Linked DNA regions of Homo sapiens: region 1 is linked to region 2. Evidence: promoter capture Hi-C in human tissues and cell types (Jung and others, 2019). All regions are on one chromosome and are shown on one strand. Each heading gives the region's core, a stretch centred on a gene start or on the middle of the fragment in contact. The rest is flanking DNA. Distances are from core to core; before and after follow the strand shown.

Evidence for each region. Contacts are between HindIII fragments. The study calls those that stand out against the background at their distance.
Region 1: the fragment with the promoter of CYP2A6 here is called in contact with the fragment with the promoter of CYP2F1 in region 2 in 5 of the 25 tissues and cell types used here (H1 embryonic stem cells, adrenal gland, heart left ventricle and 2 more).

The regions. Positions count from the first base shown.
Region 1 is chr19:40,849,104-40,855,310 of GRCh38, forward strand. CYP2A6 (cytochrome P450 family 2 subfamily A member 6) reads right to left here and starts at 1,344. Exons shown (of 9, transcript NM_000762.6): 1 at 1,144-1,344; 2 at 715-877. The coding sequence starts at 1,323. RefSeq lists promoters at 1,323-2,342, 1,323-1,459 and enhancers at 2,512-2,540, 3,736-3,770, 5,855-6,207. The HindIII fragment of the contact is 10,166 bases long and covers 1-4,946 here.
Region 2 is chr19:41,109,842-41,116,000 of GRCh38, forward strand. CYP2F1 (cytochrome P450 family 2 subfamily F member 1) reads left to right here and starts at 4,591. Exons shown (of 10, transcript NM_000774.5): 1 at 4,591-4,651. The HindIII fragment of the contact is 13,902 bases long and covers 1-6,159 here.

The sequences.
Region 1 (6,207 bases), core at 94-2,593, 260 kb before region 2:
TAAGACAATCAGAAAAGAAACAGAAAGGCCAGACAGAGAGATGCACATAGAAACAGAGGGATAAGGGGACACTCCATGGAGGAAGGGAAGGAAGTGGGGAGAGAAAGAGAGTGATGGAGGAAGAGGATGGAGGGAGGGGAAGTGAGATATGGGGAGATCTGGGAGGAGGAAATAAAAATGGTGAAAGATTCTTAAGCTGAGCTGGAGAAGAGAGAAAAATATTGAGATAGAAACAGAGAGGGTCTGGAAGGAAGAGAGACTGTTACCAGGAGATGGAGGCTGAAGATGTGGAAGTAGGAATACCCTGAAATCCTAAGACAGAGGAAGAAGTGAGAAAGGGATGCGGAGAGATGAGAAACACAGAGAAGCCCAGAAGCTAAGAGGGACAAAAAGACAAATGAAGACAGAGAACCAGGGCTGGAAAACAGAAACCCAGGATGTCCTTAGAGATGGAGAGAGAGGGGAAAGAGGAGACTCCAGTGAGAGAGAATAAGGAGGTGGGGCAGAGAGAGGCAGGGAGGAATCAGGACAGGGACGCTGGAGACAGGTGAGGGATACACATGGAGAGGCCACAATGAAGGGAGATGGGGAGGGAAGACCAGACTGGGGACTCTGCCTTAGCCTCCAGTTGGCAGGAGAGTCAGGGAGAAGGCTGGGAACACTGAGACCTTCGTGTCCACCTGGCCACCTTCCCCCTCTTGGGCACCCCCTCACCATAGCCTTTGAAGACCCAGTCGAAGGTGGCTTGCTCGCCTCGCCCGCTGAACTCCTCAGCCTGGTCCACCAGAGCCTCCCTGACGGCATCATGTCCACACAGCACCACGACCCGCCGGGGCCCCAAGTGAATGGTGAACACGGGGCCATAGCGCTCACTGATCTGATGGAGGTGGGTGGGAGTGGTTAGAGGGAGAAGCCTCCACTCTGAATGGGGCCCAGCACCGAGATGTCATGTGCTGGGATGCTTCGCACCCAGGTTCTCACAGTCAGGGAGCTGGACATCCCAAGATCCTGTCTTTCTGATGCTGAAACTCCAAAACTCCATTTCCTAAGACTCTGGTCCACACTGGTCAACCCCCTGCCACAAAGCCCCAGCCAACTAGGCAGCCCCCACCCCGTGCCACCCATCTCCCTGCCTTGGGACACCTTCATGAGGGAGTTGTACATCTGCTCTGTGTTCAGCTGCAGGTAGTTTCCAATGAAGGGCAATGGGGTGGGTCCCGGAGGCAGCTTCCCCTTGCTCTTCCTCTGCTGCCAAACAGACATCAAGACCATTACAGTCAGGCAGACCAGCAAGGCCACCAGAAGCATCCCTGAGGCCAGCATGGTGGTAGTGGGATGATAGATGGTGACGGCTGGGGTGGTTTGCCTTTATACTGCCTGAAAAAGAGGGATGGACTTTGGCTGATTACATAATTACCTCATTTCACCTCCCAACTACATGCCCCACCATGAATCCTGCCTAGCTTGGGACACAGCCAGCAAGGGAGGATAAGGGGACCCCAGGGCAGCTGAACAGAGAGGGGGCCTCCAGACTAAATCTGTGGTACTTCAGGAGGGGTGCCGCAGGGCTGTGGATTTAGGAGGGGGCAACAGATAAGCTGTAGAACTGAGGAGTTTGGAATATTTGCATAGGGGAGCACTTGGGCTTTGGATTTGGGGTCTGAGAGTGAGAATGCACCCCAAAGTTGTGGATCTGGGGGTTCCAGGGGAGAGGAATCCAAAGGTCTGGGTTTTATTAGGGTAAGACAAAGTGTGGCTGTGCATTTAGGGGTCTTCTGTTGTGGAGGATGCAGGGTTAAGGGTCTCAGGAAGGGGGATTCCAGGCATATGGACTTGAAAGTCTCGGGGCTAGGAAGACCCAGGGCTGTGGGTGTGGAGTTTCTGGGAGGAGGAGTGTGTAGCAAGCCCAGCGGGTTCTCCCAGAAAGCCCAGCAGCCCAGCACTGGGTCCAGGGGCTGACTTGATTTTGCTTTTGCCCAGAGCTGTCTCTTGATGCCCAGAATCCTCATTGGAACCTCAGAGTGAGGCCAGGATGGGTGCCATAGAACCTCCACTGCCCATCTCTGATTGGGAAGGGGAGGAAGACCAGAGCCATATTTCAGGGGAACTTTCCCCACACCTGGAGAAGAGTACCTGGAGTTAGCGGTTGGCAGAGGGATTGGCTAGGTCTGGAGAAATAGTAATAACAACCCCCAAATGGTGGAAAAATCTCAAGTGTCCCAAGGGTTGTCCGCTGGTTTCCAACCCAGATCCTCAGGGAAACCCACTAGATTGATTGTATCATCCCTATTAATATTATGATTGTTGTTTATGTTTCTCATTTTATATAAAGATCTACAGAGGACAGAAAACAGACAGTGGGCAGGGGACATGTGTGAGTGGCCCTGAACTCCCATCTCTCCTGCTCTGTGTACTTAGTTCCCCTTTCTGGATTTGGTTTTCCTGCCAGTGGAAAGGGAGTGTTTGGGAAGAGAAGATCACATTCGAGGGTGAGTTAAGTCTCCTTTAAGAATGATTCCTGCTTTGTCAGGGGCTACTACTATTAGCAGGCAGAGGGAACAGTGGCAGAAGAGATTGGGGTAAACTCCAGTATTAGGCACAGAGGCAGATCCTGGGGTGGGTGTGAGTGGAGAAGGGATGAGTAGCCCTCCTGTCCTTCCCTCAGGGAAATTCTTCCTTAGTAAACAGGACAGTTACCCTTTGGTGAGCATGGTCGTATACGGGAAGATTAAGTCTAGGTGTGTATGATCTGGTTGAATCTTTGTAACAATGAGGTTGGTTCATCATGATCATCCTCATTTTGAAGATGAGCAGATCTAGACTCCATAAATCCTCTTGAGTGAGGTCACACAGGGAGTAAGTGAGGGAGCTGGGATGTGAACTTTCTCCTCACCCCCCTTCATTGACTGGCCTAGATCACCCTGGGAGTCAAGTGCAGGCCAGCCTTAGCAGGAGGTGAGTGCTGGGACTGGCATCAGCAGTGGACACACTGATGACATTGGTGGGTTCTGATATCAGCATCAGGTATGGCCAGGGAGGGAAAGGCATCGTGTTGGCTTTGGGACTGCCCCCAGGTGTATGCGAGGATGGGAAACAAGTTGGCACTGAACTTGACACCAGGAGAATATTGAAGTCATGTTTGGTGCCAAGAGGGCTCTGTGTGTTGTCTCAGGTGTCATTGAGGGCATAAGAGTGTCCTGCTTCAGGAGGGCGTAAGGGTGGCACCATATAGGGTCTGAGGTTGGTCCCAGTGGGCTGTGACATGAGCATGAGGCAGGTGCTGATATTGGTCCTATGTGGGTCTGAGATGAGCCTCAGCCAGACCCTGAGAGGGGCCCCAGATGGCCACAGGACAGGCTGTGGTGGTTGGACCATTTAGGGTTGCACCTGTCCTCTGGGTCACCAACTTTGGACAAGTGGAGGTGGGTGAGGTTGGCACCCCCAGGACTGACATCTTGCTCAAACTGTTCTAGGATGCTGAGCTCTGAGACCTGTGTGGAGGGAACAAAGGTCAGAGAACAAGGCAGAGAGAGGAAAGTTGTTTGTTGATTTTGGAGGGGAAGAGGTGGGAAGGAAGATTAGCACCAGCTTGGCAGATATCAATCGCTCTAATCCTGTTCACCAGTCTGCACCTGGGCCTGGCTCCTCCTTTTCCTTCGTGTTTCTTAAAAAGGTGGGAGACAGAAATCTGGGGAGTTTGTTTCTCACTGGGGTTGGCACTAGGAAGTGCACTGAGTGATCAGCAGGTTGCCATGACCTGGCCAGGGAGGGGATGGGGAGAGACAGGTTGGGAGAACTCTAGTATTTGTGGACATAGAGGTCAATGAATTTTGGACTTGTTGATTACCCTAGAGCATGGAGTGAGAGAATGGTGTCTGAAATCATGTGGGAGGGACTTGTCCCAGTGGGCAGTGTCTTGGGAACAGGCTTTCAGAGTGAGTTAGTGGCGAGCCCAGGAAGATCCCTTTCCTTTGCTGGGCCTCAGTTTCCCTTTCTGAATGGATGGTGCAATGATTAAGGCCTGGATTGGAATCCTAACCTTATCCTTTCTTTGTTGTGTGGCTTTGAACAGCTGACTTCATCTCTCTGAGTCTTATGGAGCCAAGAACAGCTCCTACCTCTTTGGCTATTTAGGGGAGAAGTATAAGTGTTAATGCAGATGAGGTACATGGCAGTAAGTGCTCAATGAATGGTAGTTGTTCTCTTTAATCTGTAGGATGAAGCGGATGGATGAGATGTTCCCTAAGCACATTCCTTGCTTTTACATTCTCTAGTCTAAAGCTCACAAATCTTTTCCTTTGGGAAGGAGGAAAGGGACAGAGTCTTTGGGAACCTCCTTCGCCATCCCTTCCTCAGCACAGCCAAGCTTTACCCCATGGAGCTGTGAATAGGAAATTAATCCTTCATGGCCTCCTGGAGTGTGGTGCTGAGTTAGGCAGTATCTGCGGAAGGACAGGCCAGCATTAGACTCTCAGGTTATTCTGGTTGGCCCTGGAGCCCTGCACAGGACTTTGCCCACCTGTCTGTCTATGCTTGTCTTGGATCCCATCTTTCTATCTTTCTCTTTCTCCTTCCCTGCAAGTCAGTGTTCCCCTCAATCACCCTGTGTGCTCATGCATCTTTGTGTTTTGTGCCATTTTGTCCAGTGGGTTCTCCTGGATGCCTCTGCCATGTTTATCCTCATTTATACAACTGTGTGTGTGTCATTCTGGGTGCATGCTTTTAGTGTCTACGTGTATGTATGTTTCAGCATGTTCATGTTGATACATGAATTTATGTGTGCACCAGGCTTTGTGGTGTGTATGTTTGTGCTTGATAATGGGTATCCATTCCAACTTATGTCTGCACATGCACATGTGTGTGTGTGCCTGACAGGGTGTGGCACTGTTTCTCAATGCTTGCCAATCTTTGTGTCTGTCTCTGCATACAGCATGTGTGCACACATGATTTAGGGGTGTCTACGATGTGTATTTCTGTGTAGAACAAGATGAATGCTGCATATTCATATTTGTGTGTATACATTCACAATTGGGTGACTACATATAAGTATGTGGATGTTTTTTTCTTTGTTTTTTTTTTTGAGACAGAGTCTTGCTCTGTCCCCACGCTGGGGGGCAGTGGCATGGTCTCGGCTGGAACCTCTGCCTCCCAGGTTTACACCATTCATCTGCCTCAGCCTGCTGAGTGGCTGGGGCTACAGGTGCCTGCCACCATGCCCGGCTAATTTTTTGTATTTTTAGTAGAGATGGGGTTTCACCATGTTAGCCAGGATGGTCTCGATCTCCTGACCTCATGATCCGCCCGCCTCGGACTCCCAAAGTGCTGGGATTACAGGTGTGAGCCACCGTGCCCGGCCAGTACGTGGATGTTTTCATGTGTTCATTCTGGTGTGTGTGTGCAGACTTGTGGGCCATGTTGCATACACGTGAACATGTGATATTTTCCTGTGCTCATCTGTGTTTGGATTAAAACAGTCCTATCCCAGCTCCATTTATCTGCTTGAAAAAACCCCCAGAACTGCAGGAAGCTTTTTATGAGCATAATCTTAATTGAACTCCTGATTGCAAGACTGAGGTTAGCTTTATCATCTCCATTTTGCAAATGAGTTAGATAAGTTCCCCCAAAGCCGGTCATAAGTGACTTGCTTCTGCATTTCACAGCTAATGAGTGTAGAGTCTTAGTATGGTCTTGTGTGATGGTAAATTTTTTTTTTTTGAGATGGAGTTTCGCTCTTTTGCTCTTGTTGCCCAGGCTCGAGTGCAATGGTGCGATCTTGGCTCACTGCAACCTCTGCCTCCTGGGTTCAAGTGATTCTCCAGCCTCAGCCTCCCGAGTAGCTGGGATTATAGCCACCAGACACAGCTCATTTTTCTATTTTTAGTAGACACGGGGTTCACCATATTTGTCAGGCTGGTTTCAAACTCCTGACCTCAGGTGATCTGCCCACTTCGGCCTCCCAAAGTGCTGGGATTACAGGCATGAGCTACCACGCCTGGCTGTGAATGTAAGTTTCATGCTGTTAATCACCACTTTGGACTGCTAGGCCCCACCTGTTTTTCTTTATGAAACATTAGAAAAACTGCTTGTACTCCCTTGTATTTCTTCAAATACTTCCGTGTAAACATGTAACAAAAGATTTCAAAATGTTAGAAAAAAAAAGTCTTTTAATAGGAGGGAGACTTGACCTTCTATAGTGTTTGCACTCTT
Region 2 (6,159 bases), core at 3,341-5,840:
ATCATAGAACCCAGCAGTCACACTCACAGATATATCCAGATACACGAAACATAGATCCCCACAAAGACATATGCATATATGCCAAGAATAATACATATTATTCAAAATAGCCAGACCTTGGGAACAATCCACATTTCCATCAACTGGTGAAAAGCAAATTGTGGCACATCTATATGCGGTGACATGCTACTCTGCAATGAAAAGGAATGAGCTTCTGATGTATGTAACACATGGTTAACTCTCAAAAGCATTACGTATGCTTCCCAGAAGCAGGCTTGGTATATGGAAGAAATGCTGTAGATTTTCTTTTCTTTTTTTTTTTTTTGAGACGGAGTCTCGCTCTGTCGCCCAGGCTGGAGTACAGTGGCATGATCTTGGCTCACTGCCACCTCCGCCTCCCAGGTTCAAGTGATTCTCCTGCCTCAGGCTCCCGACTAGCTGGGATTACAGGCACCCTCCATCAAGTCCAGCTAATTTTTGTATTTTTCATAGAGAGAGGGGTTCACCACGTTGGCCAGGCTGGTCTCAAATTCCTGACCTCAGGTGATCCACCCGCCTCAGCCTCCCAAAAAGCTAAGATTACAGGCGTGAGCCACCATGCCCAGCCGTAGATTTTCATTTATATGAAATGTAGATCAATAGTGGGAAGAAAAAACTAGAACAGGGCTGGATGCAGTGGCTCAAGCCTGTAATCCCAGCACTCTGGGAGGCTGAGGCAGAAGGATTGCTTGAGCCCAGGAGTTCGAGATCAGCCTGGGCAACATAGGGAGACCTCTGCCTCTACAAAAAATTTTTAAATTAGCCAGTTGTGATGGCACAGGCCTCTACTTCCAGCTACTCAGGAGGCTGAGGCCGGGGGATCATTTGAGCCAGGGAGGTCAAGGTTGCAGTGAACAATGATCACACCACTGCACTCCAGCCTGGGGGACAGAGCAAGACCCTGTCTCAAAAGAAGAGAAAAAAACCTAGAACAATGGTTGCCCACAAGAGATGGAGCATGGTTGACTAGGAAGGAGTAGGAAGGAGGGTTCTCTTTTCATTATTATTATTACTTTAGAGAAGGGAGTCTCTCTTTGTCACCCAGGCTGGAGTGCAGGGGTGTGTTCATAGCTCACTGTAGCCTGGAACTCCTGGGTGCAAGTGATCTTCCACCTCAGCCCCTTGAGTAGCTGGGATTACAAGCGTGCACCACCACACTTAGCTATTGTTTTTTTCTTTTTTTTAGTAGAGACAGGGGTCTCGCAATGTTGCACAGCCTGGTCTCAAATTTCTGGCCTCTAGTGATCCTTCCACCTCAGCCTCCTATAGCTAGGATTATAGGCACAAACCACCACGCCCAGCTCCAAGAGAACTTTCTTGGATGATGAAAATATTCTGTATCTTCACAGGGATTTCGATACCTTCAAAATTCAGCAAATGTTCACTTACCATGTGTGTATTTCATCACAGGTAAATTTTACCTAAAGAAATCGTTAAGGGAAAACTCCATCTACACACCTTCACAGGAACTATGACACAGTAAATAGAATCAAGTCCTCCAGTTGGCGATGGAATGGGATCTGGCACACCAGAAGGGGGCTCACCTAAGCCTGACATGGGACACTGTGTGGTTCTAGCAGGAAGGAAGGCTGCATGTGCCGTCCAGATGCCAGTGGGCAAGAGGACAGGATGATGGAGGATGCGCCCGCTTACTGCCCATTGCTGCCATTCTCTCCGTGAGATAAGAAGCGGGTTCATCAACAAAGAGTGAGGTGACTGAAGAGGGTTTTGGAGTTTGAGGAGGCAGGAACAAAAGGATAGGAATAGGGCGGGGGGAGTTCCAAGAGAGGACAATGAGAGGCGAGGCATTTTTCCACCACGGAGTGTGTTTCAGCTTTCTGCAATACCCCAGCGGTTCTCAACTGGGTTGATTTTTTTCCTCCCAAGGGGACATTCAATAGTATCTGGAGTCATGTTTGTTTGTAACAACTGGTAGGGAATGAGTGGGTGGGTTCTGTCATCTACTGAGTAGAAACCAAGGACACTGCTAAACATCCTACCACACACAGGATGCAGCCCCCACCACCCATGAAGGCCCAAGACATCAACAGCAGTGAGTTGAGAAATTGCAATACATCCCTTCCTTGCCCCAAGTTCCCTCTGTAGCAGGAGAGCAAGTCAGAATAACAGAACTCAAAGCCTCTTAAAACCCCCCTTCTCGGCCACACATGGTGGCTCACGCCTGTAATCCCCAGAGGCCCAGGTGGGAGGATCGCTTGAGCCCAGGAGTTGGGGACCAGACTGGGTGACATAGCATGCTAGATCTCATCTCTACTAAAAATTTTAAAAATTAGCCAGGTGTGGTGATGCGTGCTTGTAGTCCCAGCTACTTGGGAAGCTGAGGCAGGAGAATCCCTTAAGCCCAGGAGATCGAGGCTGCAATGAGCTATGATCACACCACTAAACTCCAGTCTGGGTGACAGAGTGAGACCCTGTGTCAAAACAAACTAACTAACTGCCCTTCCCATAAATCCCAGTTTCCCCAATCAGGTGGTCCCATTAGGCCCATCTTTTTTTTCTTTTTTTTTCTTTTTTTTGAGTCAAAGTTTCACTCTTGTTGCCCAGGCTGGAGTGCAATGGTACAATCTCAGCTCACTGCAACCTCCACCTCCCGGGTTCAAGTGATTCTCCTGCCTCAGCCTCCTGAGTAGCTGGGATTATAGGCAAGCACCACCACGCCTGGCTAATTTTTTTTGTATTTTTAGTAGAGACAGGGTTTTGCCATGTTGGTCAGGCTGTCTCAAACTCCTGACCTCAGGTGATCCACCCACCTCGGCCTCCCAAAGTGCTGGGATTACAGGCATGAGCCACCACGCCCAGCCTCATTAGGCCCCTCTTAACCAAGTTCTAGGGTGAGGGATAAGTTGCTTACAGGGTTGGCGTGGATACAGCACTACACCCTCCCCTTAAAAGTAGGGAGTAGACGCCAAGGGAAACTAGAGCTATATAATCCCATCATCAAGCCTTCAGCCCTCTTCCAGGACCTGCCCCAACCGGCCTATCCAGGACTGAAACAACAGCATGGGCCCCACCTCCACCCCACCATATGCCTGGGACCTAGGGTGTCAAATTCCCCAGGACCTCCAAACACTTCCTCCTCTGCCCCTCTGAGAACAGCAATCCTGGTGCACACCCACGAACCTGTGGGGGTACCCACACCTCCACCTGGCCTCCCAGACCCTTGACCGCAGGGGCTCTCCACCCAGCCTAGCCCCTGGCACCAGAGCCCTGGCCCAGCTCCAGGTTTTGCATTCTGCCCTTGTGACCTGGCCAGGAGGTGGGTAACTAGGGCCAGTTTCTTCTTCTTTTTTTTTTTTTTTTTTTTTTGAGACCGAGTCTCACCCTGTTGCCCAGGCTGGAGTGCAGTGGCATGTTCTTAGCTCACTGCAACCTCCACCTCCCGGGTTCAAGCGATTCTCCTGCCCCAGCCTCCCAAGTAGCTCAGACTACAGGCGTGAGCCACCATGCCTGGCTAATTTTTGTATTATTAGTAGAGACAGGGTTTCACCATGTTGGCCAGGCTGGTCTTGAACTCCTGACCTCAGGTGATCCACCCACCTCGGCCTCCCAAAGTGCTGGGATTACAGGCGTGAGCCACTGCGCCTGGCCTACTAGGGTGAGTTTCTAAGGCAGGAGCTGAGAGTAGACATGGCTAGTAGGGTGCTCAGGAGGGCAGGAGGAGGGCTGTTTATGAGCCAGTGGTGGGAGAGAGTGTCATTCTAGTCTGAGAGGCTTTTTCCCTGTGGCTTCCAGCTCTGCCCTTTTCTTAAACACTCCTTCAGCCTCAGCTTGGCTTCAGTCCCACCAAGTGCAGTCTGACTCGTGGAGACATGAGAGATAGAGAGAGTGAGAGACCAGAGAGATCAGGAGACAGTGACTGAGAGGGACTTACAGGGAGATCAGGGAGAGAAGCAGAGAGAAGGAGAAAGCCCAGAGAGCATAAGAAATGAAGACCCAGAGACACCAAAGGAGGGAGAGACAGAGACACAGAGAGACAAAAAGATTCAGAGGCAGAGACTGTAGAGGCAGAAGCAAAGCAAGACACAGAGCATTTCAGAGACCCACGGCAAGAGACAGGGAACAGCATGGAGAACTATGAAAAAATAGGCTTCCAGAGAAAGAGAAAACTCCAGCTCTGGAGGGAAAGGGACTTAGCCAGGGCCACTCGGCCCATCAGTGGCAGAAATGGACTTGAACCCAGAGAAAAAGAAACAAGTGCCCCAAATACCAAAGGAACCCAGCCCCCATCCCTGGCCCATCATTTTGCGACAGCCCCATGACTACCCCAAAACCAGGCCCAGGCTCCAACTGGCAAAGCAAAAAAAAAAAACAAAGAAAGAAAGAAAGCTTTGCCCCATCCCAGGAGGGCCCCCAGGCGCAGCCCCCTCCCACGGCACCTTTCCAGCTGGCTGTGAGCCCTAGGGCCGCAGGAAAGGTATGGCAAGATGATGGGAGGGATTTAAAGTTCACAGCGAGAACAAGAAAAGTGGGGTTAAGGAGGAGGGTGTGGGCAGAAACAACTTAAGAACAACCTCTGCCCCACCACCCCCCAAGCACACCCAGAGCTGCAGGCTCTAGCGCATCCCAGCCAGTGTCTCCTGCAGCTCAGCAGGTAAAGGGCCCCGGTGAGGGAGGCAGAGAAGGAGGGGGTGTCTCCCAAGAGAGGGTGGGTCGCCAGCTCCAATCTCTGTCTCTGAGACTGGCTAGGAATCTTTTTTGCTGTTTCCTCTGAGAGCTCTCATGTCCCTGTTCTGAGCACTGGGATTTCTTTACTGGTGCTTCACCAAGTAGGTGGCTTCTCTCTCTGCAATGCAACCCCATGGTTGGCAACACTTGATTTTTTCCTGTCACTGTTTCTGCCTGTGCCCTTCCTCTCTGTCTCCGTCTCTTTCTCTCTCTCTCTCTCTCTTTTTTTTTTTTTTTTTTTTTTTGAGGCTGGAGTGCAGTGGTTCAATCTCAGCTCACTGCAACCTCCACCTCCTGGGTTCAAGCGATTCTCCTGCCTCAGCCTCCTGAGTAGCTGGGATTACAGGTGCCTAACACCACGCCTGACTAATTTTTGTGTTTTTAGTAGAGACAGGGTTTCACCATGTTGGCCAGGCTGGTCTCAAACTCCTGACCTCAAGTGATCCGCCTGCCTCGGCCTCCCAGAGTGCTGGGATTACAGGCGTGAGCCACCGTGCCCGGCCTCAGTCTCTCTTGGTCTGCCCTTTGCAGCCTACCCGTCTCTTTGTGTGGCTCTAATATTCCCTGCCTCTCTTATTCTCTCTCTCTCTCTCTCCATCTCTGTCTATGTGACTCTGTCTTTGTGTATCTGTTTCTGTCTGTCATTCTCGTCTCCCTCAGTCTCTGTGTCTAGCTCTGTCTCTCCCTCTCTCTGTCCCTCTTACCCTTTTTCTCTCCATCCTTCCATGTCCCTCTCTGTCTCTCAGTCAGTGTCCATCTCACTGTCTCTCCACTCAATCTCCCTTGTCTTTCTCTAGCTCTGTGTCTGTCTAGTTCTGTCTCTTTCTTTCTCTAGTCTATGTCAGCCTCTCTCTTTCTGTGATGTGCTCTCTGGCTCTCCCTATCTCTGTGTTTGTCTGTCTCTGTCCCTGTGTGTCTTGATCTCTCTTTATCACTGTCTCTGTATGACAGTCTCTTGACAGACAGGTGATGATAGATAGATAATAGACAGATGATACACAGATGATAGATTATGAAGATAGTAGATAGATGATAGATATAGATAGATAATAGATGATAGATAATAGACAGATCAATGATAGATGATAGAAGAATAGATAGATGATGGATAGACAGATGATAGATGATAGATAGATAGATAGATGATAGATAGATGTTGATAGATGTTAGATAATAGATGAGAAACAAAGAAAGAAAGAAAAAGAAAAAAGAAAGAAAGAAAAAGAAAGGAAGGAAGGAAGGAAAGAAAGAGTGATAGATGATAGATGGCTGATAGGTAGACAGACATCTGTAGATATGTAGATCGCTCACTGTTTTTCTGTCTCTCTCATTATCTTTATGCATATCTCTTGGCCTCTCTTAGTCTCTGTTCCTCTATCACTTGCCTCTCTCCATTTATGTCTCTGTGTTTCTGTCTCCTTATCTGTCTATATG